4 separate regions of the Homo sapiens genome follow, and all the other regions are linked to region 3. The links are contacts of gene promoters, found by promoter capture Hi-C in blood cells and fetal thymus (Javierre and others, 2016). All regions are on one chromosome and are shown on one strand. The core of a region is centred on a gene start or on the middle of the fragment in contact, and the rest is flanking DNA. Distances in the headings are between cores, read along the strand shown. Region 1 overlaps IKZF2 (IKAROS family zinc finger 2). Region 2 overlaps DNPEP-AS1 (DNPEP antisense RNA 1). Region 3 holds the start of XRCC5 (X-ray repair cross complementing 5). Region 4 has its middle 11 kb from the start of RETREG2.

The links. The method cuts DNA at HindIII sites, captures the fragments that hold promoters and counts their contacts. A CHiCAGO score of 5 or more calls a contact.
Region 1: a fragment that was not itself captured here is called in contact with the fragment with the promoter of XRCC5 in region 3 in 1 of 17 cell types (fetal thymus); the score reaches 5.6 in fetal thymus.
Region 2: a fragment that was not itself captured here is called in contact with the fragment with the promoter of XRCC5 in region 3 in 1 of 17 cell types (neutrophils); the score reaches 7.8 in neutrophils.
Region 4: a contact is called between a fragment that was not itself captured here and the fragment with the promoter of XRCC5 in region 3, in 1 of 17 cell types (neutrophils). The highest score is 5.7, in neutrophils.

The regions. Positions count from the first base shown.
Region 1 is chr2:213,015,177-213,017,876 of GRCh38, reverse strand. All of the region lies in intron 7 of IKZF2 (IKAROS family zinc finger 2), which reads left to right. Among named protein-coding and RNA genes, the nearest start is that of MIR4776-2, 90 kb to the right of the region's middle. The HindIII fragment of the contact is 3,046 bases long and covers 1-2,700 here.
Region 2 is chr2:219,393,932-219,396,689 of GRCh38, reverse strand. The region is part of intron 2 of DNPEP-AS1 (DNPEP antisense RNA 1); the gene reads right to left. It also overlaps a transcript of DNPEP not described here. Among named protein-coding and RNA genes, the nearest start is that of DNPEP-AS1, 6.7 kb to the right of the region's middle. The HindIII fragment of the contact is 3,679 bases long and covers 1-2,758 here.
Region 3 is chr2:216,107,952-216,110,651 of GRCh38, reverse strand. XRCC5 (X-ray repair cross complementing 5) reads right to left here and starts at 1,304. Exons shown (of 21, transcript NM_021141.4): 1 at 1,195-1,304. The coding sequence starts at 1,215. RefSeq lists an enhancer at 959-1,580. The HindIII fragment of the contact is 16,954 bases long and covers 1-2,700 here.
Region 4 is chr2:219,187,554-219,190,270 of GRCh38, reverse strand. No RefSeq gene overlaps it. Among named protein-coding and RNA genes, the nearest start is that of RETREG2, 11 kb to the right of the region's middle. The HindIII fragment of the contact is 8,156 bases long and covers 1-2,717 here.

The DNA.
Region 1 (2,700 bases), core at 183-2,682, 3.1 Mb after region 3:
AATACAACAGAATGCAACCCCTGAGGTTATTTACCAGCTATTGGAAGATAGACCAGTAAAACAACAATTATAGTACTATGTGATAAGCATTATGGAGACAGAGAGGACATACCTAAATCAGCAGAACATCCAAGAGGAATTTCCCGGGATTGAGCTTAGTTTTAAAAAGCAAAAATGTGAACTAATAAATGGAGAAGGGTGTTTCCTGCAGAAAGAACAACATATGTGAACAACTACCAATGTAGCATCTAAAACACTTGGGGTACCTCCATGTGTGTTTGTAAAGAGATGTGGTAGGGAGGAGGAGAGGCAGAAGACTGGATGAAAGGAAGAAATCTAGGATTTTCCACAGGTGACCAGCATGGCTGATGGAGTAAATAGTAGTGTCATTCAGTGATATGGTAATTAGTAGTGTCATTCAGTGATATGGTAATTAGGAAAATAGAAGAAAGAAAGGTAAATGGAGATTTTACTTCTTTTACTATATTCTTTTATGTCTCCATGAAATAGGCAAATAAAACTGTCTAGGAAGATGTTAAATATATAGATCTCAAGCTCTTGAGAGGGGTCTGAGTAGGAAACAAAGATGCAGGATCCATCATAATTTATGTAGTGGCCCAACGTAGTAGTTTTTAATAAGGCAATACGGATAAGTACAGAGTGAGACATCAAGAAGGCCAAGAACACACTAGCAGGAAAAAAATTTCATGAAGATGAGTAAGAGCAGAGTAGGAACATGGAAAGAGTGATTTCACAGAAGCCAAAGCAAGTGTCAGCACTGCCAAATGCTGTCAAGAAAATAACTAAGATAACTGTAAAGTTTTTTTTTTAGATCGGGTAACACGGAGAAAATTTGCAACAATATAGAAGACATCTGTTGTTTTTGCCTGCCTGACATCCCTTCCTCCTTCTCTTGATAACAAGAGTGCCCATTTACCTTTAGAGAACTTTCCTGTTGCATGTAGCTGTGGTGGGACCCTCAGTCCAGGTACTCTGCCCTCTCCTGCTCAGGAGCTAGACATGTGATCTAACCTAGGTCCCTCAGACTTGGAATTTGAATTTGGGTGAACTGTTTGGTTTTTCAAAAGAATACATTGGGAATACACTTATGGTTTTGCCGTTATGGTTATCAACGTGATGAAACAGTGATCTAATGGAATTATGTTTTTATCTTGGTTATAACCTCAAATATAAGGTCAAAGAGGATGTTTGGTTATAAAGTTTGTTCAAACAGGGGAAGTTACCTTATTGGTATATCTTTAGCCCAGATTAATGTCTATGTGATTAATGCATTATTGAGATATCTAGAGAATTTGTTTTATGTTTCTAGCAATGTATACACAGAAATATTTTGATGAGTTGCACCCAGATCCATGAAGCAAAACAAAATCAGATTGGTTACATAATTAAGGAAAAATGTATCAGGTCTTTACCCAATGGCAGACCTTACAAATATGTCTGACTGGTTTACAAAAAGTCAATGCTCAAAATACCTCTACAAAGAGTAGTATAGCGTAATGGTTGAGCCAGGCTCTGGAGCCAGACTCCTAGTAGTAATAACATTCTCTACTAACTAGATGTAAACCCTGAGGAAATTACTTAACATCTCTGGGTCTTTCTGTTCTCATCTGTACAGTGAAGATGGTATTACACCTATTTCATGGAGTTTCTGGATGAATTAAATTAATTATTAAATGCAAAGCCTTAAAACAGCACACAGCACATAGTATACGTCAGTTATTATTATTGCCGATGTGGTAGAAACAAGATCAATTTTTGACATGAAAAGGGCTATTGTAAAGTAGAAATTAGATCAGAACTCTGCCAAAATCATCATTTTCAGTTCACATGAGCTTCATTGAACTCGGGACAAATCATCTGAATTGAGGTGGATGTGGTGTGGGACAGTTCCCACACCCAGGTTTCGTTTTGAGTGTTAAATGCGTTCAAATATGAAAATTCAGGGTGAAACTTAGAGCAAAACTGCCAGGTTTTGGACTACTCATTTCAGAACAAATTAGCATATTTAATTTTGGGGGCAAACCCGTTAACCAGTTTTGCTAGTTTTTTAGCAAAATTTACAACAACATTTTTTTTTTCTTGCCAAATTCTTTCATTTTGGATCTTGGTCTGACATATTTTCATCTTTGGTCCATACTTGGACTGCTTTTTAGTTTTATTGTTATTTCTAATAATGTAGTAAGTGCTTGTAAATCCATCATCCAAACAAAAAGTTAAGATTTTGACCACAATTTGTATCTCATTACCTGGTTCTCCACCACACCACCACCACTGTGCCATTCTTCTGACTCCCCTTACGTGAATTGGTCATCCTTGAATGTTTTTGAAATTCTTTGCTTTTTTGTTGACTCTTTTACTTTTGTGTCACTTTTTTAGTTGTTACTAAAAGAGAATATAATGTTTTATACATAATATCTTGGGACATACTTTTTCAATGTGATAACATCATTAATGATATAGTGCAGACAATGATCTGTTTCCTTGTTCCTCAGTCTCACCTTGAAACTTTTTTCCAAATTAACATCTAATAATTGCACAATCCCTTGCTATTCATAGCCAGAGGACTTCTTATTAAATGTAGATTACAATTCAATTTTTTTGACCCATCTATAGGTTAATCAAAACTTGGATGGAATGTTGATTTCTTTAAACATGTCCAAATCATGAAAACATTTTTTC
Region 2 (2,758 bases), core at 17-2,516, 3.3 Mb before region 3:
ACTCAGTTAAATTTTGTTTTTAGTATAAGCATATCCCATGCAATATTTGGGACATACTTATACTGAAAAGATTATTCCTTATCTTTTTTTTTCTTTTTTTTTGAGATGGAGTCTTGCTCTGTTGCCCAGGCTAGAGTGTAGTGGTACGATCTCAGCTCACTTCAACCTCCACCTCCCAAGTTCATGCGATTCTCCTGCCTCAGCCTCCCTAGTAGCTGGGATTACAGGTGCCCGCTACCATGCCTGGCTAATTTTTGTATTTTTAGTAGAGATGGGGCTTCACCATGTTGGTAAGGCTGGTCTCGAACTCCTGACCTCAAGTGATCCGCCTGCCTTGGCCTCCCAAAGTGCTGGGATTAGAGGTGTAAGCCACCCACGCCCAGCCCTTGTTTATCTTAAATTCAAATTAAACTGGGCATTCTGTATTTCATTTGGCAACCCTAACTTTATCATGGTTAGAGTCATAACCACCATTATAATCAAGACATAGAACTATCCATCACCATCAAGATATTCCTGAGCTACTCCTTCATAGTCACACATCCCTCCCCAAATCCTCCCTAGCCCTGAGCAACCACTAATCTGTTCTCCATCTCTATAATTTTGTCATTTTTTTCACTCAGCATAAGGCACCTGAGATCCATCCACAGCGTTGCATTTAGCAACCACTCGTTCCTTTTTATCGCTGAGTATTATCCCATGAGGGCCCTTTTTCACAAAGAACAATTATTTTTCAAAATTTCTTTAATTCAGTAAGTGTTTATTGTATATCCACTACCTGCCAGGCACTGAGGATTGCAGCAGCAAAGTAAAATTGATTACATGTCACAGGCCAGCAGGTTACTTCCAGTTGACAGAGACTTCTTCCTGTGGATCCTAAGACAGGAGATGACACTGGCGCTAGGAGAGGAGGATTGGCCTCCCTAAGCACTTCCCTCTGGAGATGCTAGGGAAGGCTTTGTGAAGGAGCTTGGGAGGCAGGGTTTGCTGATGGATCTGACATGGGGTGCAAGAGAAAGAGATGCACCAAGGCTAACGCCAAGAGTTATGACCTGAAACTGGAAGGACAAAGTTGCCATTTACTGAATGTATGGCAGATGCACCTGACAGCAATAACTGAAGCACACCCTGAGAATGACCCTGAATGGCAGATATACTTGATGTGTGTTTGGAGTTCTGAGCTAAGAAATCCTGGAGTGGGCAACCTAGAGATCCTCATCTATGAGGAACCTCTGAGCCCCCTTCCCATCCTGTGGAACAAGGGCCATACAGGGGATCAAGGCGCTTTGTTTTGGGTTAAATGAAGGTTGCCAGGTAGAGGTTGTTAGGGAGCAGGTGTTGAGTGAAAATGCGTGCTTTCTGCAGGTGACAGTGGTTCTACTGTCCAGCTCGCCACCACTGGACCATCTTGTATGTAAGTTCTCCTCAATAGACCCCACGTCGGCCGGGCCCAGTGGCTCACGCCTGTGATCCCAGCACTTCGGGAGGCTGAGGAGGGCAGATTGCTTGAGGTCAGGAGTTCGAGACCAGCCTGGCCAACATAGTGAAACCCTGTCTCTACTAAAAATACAAAATTAGCTGGGCATGGTGGTGCATGTCTGTAATCCTCAGGAGGCTGAGGCAGGAGAATCACTTGAACACAGGAGGTGGAGGTTGCAGTGAACCGAGATCGCACCACTGCACTCCAGCCTGGGCAACAGAGTGAGACTCCCTCTCAAAAAAAAAAAAACCTTGTCTTGTTTGCTGGCTCTGGGTCTCTTCTTTGGCCTCTTGAACCTGGGGCCTTCCTTATTGGAGTGGACAGGGGTTCAGCACAACACTGAGATGGGAAGAATGTGGATGGAATAGGTTTGGGGAACAAGGAGTTCAGATTAAGACATATTACACTGGAGATTCCTATTAGGCACACATATGGAGACTGTGCAAAAACAATTGGATATATGAGAATATATATAGTTCAGAAGAGATATCTGGGCTAGGGATACATAAATTTGACAATTGTCAGGGTATGGATACTATTTAAAGTCATGAGATTGGACATTAGCAAGGGAGTGAGGGTAGAGAGATTTCTAAGCACTGAGCCCTGAGGCCTTCCATTTAAAGATGGGAGATGAGGCCAGGCACCGTGGCTCATGCCTGTAATCCCAGCAGTTTGGGAGCCCCAGGTAAGAGTATCGCTTGAGGTCAAAGTTGGAGGCCAGCCTGGCCAACAAAGTGAGACCTCATCTCTATTTTAAAAACATGAATATAATAAAATAATAACAACATTAAAGATGGGAGATGAGGAGGAGCCAGAAGAGACCCAAAGGAGTGGTGGTGAGGGTAGTAAGTGTCTGGAAGGCCAAGTGAAGAGAGTGTTCCCAGGAGAGCAAACGGCTATGTCAAATAGGACCCATGGGTCAACGACAATGGGGACTGAAAATCGACCATTGGGTTCAGCATTGTGGAGGTTGCTTTTGACCTTGACAAGAAAAGTTGCGGTGGAATGACAGCGGTAAAACCTCATTCTAGAGGATTTACAAGAGAATGGGAGGAGAGGAATCGGGAAAACATAAGACTAGATAGTTCTTTTTAAAAGAGATTTACATAAAGAGGAGAAGGAAAATGAGGCCACTGCTGGAGGGAGACTGGGGGTTAAGGGAGGATTATTTTTTCTTGGGAGAAATTATAGCACATGTATATGCTAATCAGCTTGACCCGCCAGAACTGTGGAGATTGATAATGCAGGAGAAAGGGAAGAAGAGTTGATATGGTGCCC
Region 3 (2,700 bases), core at 55-2,554:
CTGGAAGCAGAATGGTCTATATTTCTGAGTTCCTATCTGGCAGCAGTAAGAAAACTGAGAAAGAGAAACCGGGTAGCATAGCAACTCTTCATTTCTATACCGAAGCAATACAGGCTGTTAGAATTTTACTTCCAGTTCATCTGCAACAAACAGCTCCTCCACTAGAGCTACAAAGTTTTCAGCAGCTGAAAGAGGACGAAAAAAGGAGGTGAGTGGCATTATTAAAAGTTCATGATCGTTTTAATCAACATTTCTCAATGAGGAGTTGAGGGAACTAGGGATCAGTTGCTCAAACTCGTATCTTGTTTATCTGTATTGAATAAATTCATTAATCCCTGGAACCACATCTCCCTCTAGTGACCCTTCAGAGACAACTACCACTCTTTTATGTTGAAAAAAAAAAATCACTTTAAAATTCATTGTAATTTCTGTTACTGATCTGGGACACCAATGGTCATAGATTTCTAGCAACACAGGGGTTCTCCAGGGCCCTGAAACCAGACAGCTTGGATTCAAATCCGGATTTCACCAGGAAAAGCCCACAGTTCTTTATTCCTCGGTTTTCCCACTTGCAAAATGGGGATAAATAGTTTTCACTTCAAGGGGTTGTGAAGATTAAATGAGATAAGAATAAAAGGTTTAGATCCGTCCCTCACAGAGTGGGCTTTCAATAAATGCGGGATACTACGTTATTATAAAGCTAATAATACGACGCTTTACAGTTTAAGTTATTTTAGTCACAGATAGTCCCTCTCTTAAGTTTTACAACAAGCCCTGTGGGATAGTTGCTTTATCACAGCTAATTTTCATTCTCATAGAGATCTTAAGAACCCAGGCTCGGAAGTAATAGAGGAAGTGGGGCTAGGGAGTGGAATGGGATAAAGAGAGAGAGAGGGGAGGCGGGTGGGGAGGCAGGTGAGACAAAGAGCAGGTAGAGAGGGAGAAGAGGGATGGGATGGGTGGGTAATGGAAGAGGTGGAGTCAGCGAGGCTCAAATTCAGGTCTTGGAGCCCCAAATCTCCAGCTTTTCTCATAGCGCATCCCTCGGTCCCGGCCCTCCTGACTGAGCCCACCACCATGATCTTCTCTTGCCCCATTCTTTGTCTTGACCGCGATCCCACGATTCCTGCTTCCGAACCACCCTCTCCGGATCCCCAGTCCGGGTAAAGCCCAAGTCCATGGCTTTCTTTATACCTTATTCCCCGACCGCACCATGTTGCCGGTCCTCAGGCGCTTTGGTCGCTTCTTCCGGGCGGGAACCTGCCGTGTCGCAACTCGCTTCCGGTGGACAAGCGGCAGATAGCGGAAAGAGCCGCTTCGTTTCCTGCTAGGCCTGAAAGGGGCGGGGAAACCGTGCCCCGGAACTCTGAGCATGCGCAGATTCCCGCCGAGCTTGCGCAGATTCCCGCCGAGCTCGCGCAGATTCCGGCCGAGCATGCGCAGATTCTCTCCGAGCATGCGCAGATTCCCGCCGAGCATGCGCAGATTCCCGCCGAGCATGCGCACATTCTCTCCATTCCGCCGTAGTCGGGAGCGTGTGGTGTTTGAGCCGCCTGAAACGCTAGTACGACAGATTTACTTAAAGATTCACTTAATCACTTAAAGATTCACGTCCCTTTTCTCTCATTGAGAATAACACCTAAGGCATTTTGTGTCAGAGCTCTGGAGTTAGATTTCTTTTCTTTTTTTTACTTTTTTAAAAAATCTTTTTTCCTTTAATTTCATTTTTTCATTTATTTTTTATAACTTTTGATTTTTTTTTTTCTCATCACTTGTGGGTTTTTTTCTACTTTTTATTTTTGGTTATTGTGGAGTTAGATTTTCTTGAGTATGAGTATGAATGCAGAAAGTCACTTAACTTCTCTAAAAGACTCAGTTTCTTCTAAAAAGTGATAATGAAACACTTCACCGATGTGATAACCTTAGAGCCAACTGGGGAAGAAGAGTAGGACGTCCCCAGGAGCACAAAAGTAGAAGGGAGATTCTACTCTGCAGAGAAAATGGGATGCACAAACGCCTGGAGGCATGAGACTTTATCTGCTAAGGCTCTCCCAGTAGTTAGCAGTGGCTCCAGCTTGGAAGGGAGGAGTCAAGGTTTAATTTAGAAGACAAGTCTAGGGAGATATAGAAATAGCAGCTGTCATCACAGTGCTTTACTTGATCACGAGCCCTTTGTCCAGCCCGCATCCCCTACCCCTTTGAGGGAGGCAGGCCCAAGCAGTACCTTGCATAGAAATGACTGCTTTCTATACCATATGACCCCCAGCTGACAGGTGGCTGGACGAAGGGTCTGGCAACCTGCAAAGTGTCTGCAAACCTCTGCCCAAACTGAGAAAATCAAGTCCAATCAATATTCTCTCCTGCTTGAAAATTGTTTCTGGGAAAAGCAAGAATTGAAGCTGAAAAGATGTGGAGAATCTATGAGCCAAAATTATAAATACATTGAAGCCTCTAGAATGTAGAGTCAGACATATTCAGAGGTGCTCATAGAGCCCAGGAGGTTCTTCCAGCTTTTGATTCAAACTCAAGGAGTTACTTAAAAGCTGAAATATTATTTTTAATAATACTTTAAAGGAACAGCAGCGCCCTGGCCGCTCAGCTTTGCGCGGGCTGCAGCAGGCAGGCAGGCAGGCACGGACACTCGCCCTTCCCTGCGGGTAAGATTTCCAAGAGAAAGATCAGCTCGGCAGAAGGGGCGGG
Region 4 (2,717 bases), core at 214-2,713, 3.1 Mb before region 3:
CCATATCACAGGTGCAGTGGCTCATGCCTGTAATCCTAGCTTCTCAGGAGGCTGTGGTGGGAAGATTGTTTGAAGTCAAGAATTTGAGACCAGCCTGGGCAACAAAGCAAGACCTTGTCTCTAAAAGATACTTTAAAAATTAGCTGGGCCAGGTGCGGTGGCTCACACCTGTAATCCCAGCACTTTGGGAGGCCGAGGCAGGTGGATCACCTGAGGTCGGGAGTTTGAGACCTGCCTTACCAACATGGAGAAACCCTGTCTCTACTAAAAATACAAAATTAGCCAGGTGTGGTGGTGCATGCCTGTAATCCCAGCTACTAGGGAGGCTGAGGCAGGAGAATCACTTGAACCCGGGAGGTGGAGTTTGCGGTGAGCTGAGATTGCACCATTTCACTCCAGCCTATGCAACAAGAGTGAAATTCTGTCTCAAAACAAACAAAAAATTAGCTGGGCATGGTAGTGGGCACCTGTAGTCCCAGCTACTCGGGAGGCTGGGGCAAAGGGGTCACTTGAGCCCAGGAGTTTAAGGCTGCAGTGAGCTATGACCTTACAGCTGCACTCCAGCCTGGCCAACAGAGCAAGACTCTGTCTCAAAAAAGAGTCTAAATCCAAAATTGTTTTCCAAACAACATAATAATTTGATGCAATCACAGAAGATCAAGCTAGTTGGGCAATCTTACCTTAAACTCAGAAAACCCCGCTCCCAAACCAGCAAATACGAATCTCCAGCTCTAGATTGTTTGAATTGCCTTTAACCTAGTCCAGGGAAAAAGAACTCACAAGTCTATCTGCCGATTATTTTAACCTAGCTACTATTCCCTCTAGAACAGTAATGGACAAGCAAAGGCATGCATCAATAACATAGCCATGTATCAGTCACCAAACTCTTTTCACTAGTTGCTTCAAAATCTATAACTGGTTACTCTAGTATTAGTTCAATTTAGTCTAACACGCATTTTTTGAGCACCTACTATGTGCCAGACACTATGCTAGGCTTTGAGGATATTCAGATGATAAGACATTGTCTCTGCCTTCAAGAATAAGCAGTATTGTGGCGGGTATACATACGTATATATGTATCTGTATACACACACACACACACACACACACACACACACACAGACCTATATACTCTATATCCACATACTTTCAGAGAGGGTATAAGGATTCCCTGTGGTAAGTGGGAAAACAGAAGTATGCCCAATAGACTACAAAAGCACTAGGAGAGTGGGACTGACATTGGGGTGGGGGGTGGCATGGTGAGGGATATCAGGGGACATTGGTAGATGAGGTGTGGCCTGAAGTGCATCTTAAAAGATAAGTGAAAGTCGGGCATGGTAGCTCTCGATTGTAATCCCAGCACTTTGGGAGGCAGAGGCGGGTGGATCATTTGAGGTCAGGAGTTTGAGACCAGCCTGACCAACATGATGAAACCATGTCTCTACTAAAAATACAAAAAAATTAACTGGGCATGGTGGTGTGAGCCTGTAGTCCCAGCTACTTGGGAGGCTGAGGCAGGAGAATCGCTTGAACCCGGAAGGTGGAGGTTGCAGTGAGCTGAAGATTATGCCACTGCACTCCAGCCTGGGCGACAGAGCGAGACTCCATCTCAAAAAAATAAAATAAAATAAAATAAAATAAAATAAAATAAAATAAAATAAAATAAAATAAAAAGGTAAGTGAGACATTTGCCAAGTGAAGGGATAGGGGGTGTGTGTGTAGAGCAGAGGTGGGGGAGGGCAGCACAACTGAGCAGTGGGGAGGACAAGCTGTTTGGGGTTTGCTGTTGCTGTAAAGACAGGCCAGCGTCAAATCTCAGAATACTTTTTTTTTTTTTTTTTTGAGATGGAGTCTTGCTCTGCCGCCCAGGCTGGAGTGCTGTGGCATGATCTCGGCTCACTGCAACCTCTGCCTCCCGGGTTCAAGCGGTTCTCCCACCTCAGCCTCCTGAGTAGCTGGGACTACAGGCATGCGCCACCACACCCGGCTAATTTTTGTATTTTTAGTAGAGACGGGGTTTCACTAGGTTGGCCAGGCTGGTCTTGAACTCCTGACCTCAAATGAGCCATCCTCGGCCTCTCAAAGTGCTGGGATTACTTTTGTTTTGTTTTTGAGACAGAGCCTCACTTTGTCGCCCAGGCTGGAGTGCAGTTGGGTGATCTTGGCTCACTGCAACCTCCACCTCCTGGGTTCAAGTGATTCTCATGCCTCCACCTCCCCAGTAGCTGGGATTACAGGAGCACGCCACCACCACTCTTGGCTAGTTTTTGTATTTTTAGTAGAGACGGGGTTTCACCATGTTGTGGCGCCAGGCTGGTCTTAAATTCTTGACCTCAGGTGATCCGCCCACCTTGACCTCCCAAAGTGCTGGGATTACAGGCATGAGCCACTGCACCCAGCCTCAGAGACTTCCCCCTTTTTTTTTTTTCCCCAAGAGGGAGTTTTGCTCCTGTCACCCAGCCTGGAGTGCAATGGCATGATCTCGGCTCACTGCAACTTCTTCCTCTCAGGTTCAAGCGATTCTCTGGCCTCAGCCTCTCCAGTGGCTAGGATTACAGGTGTGCACCGCCACTCTTGGCTAATGTTTGTATTTTTGGTAGACACAGGGTTTCATTATGTTGGCCAGGTCTCAAACTCCTGACCTCAGGTGATCCGCCCACCTCAGCCTCCCGAAGTGCTGGGATTACAGGCGTGAGCCACTGTGCCCTGCCTCAGAA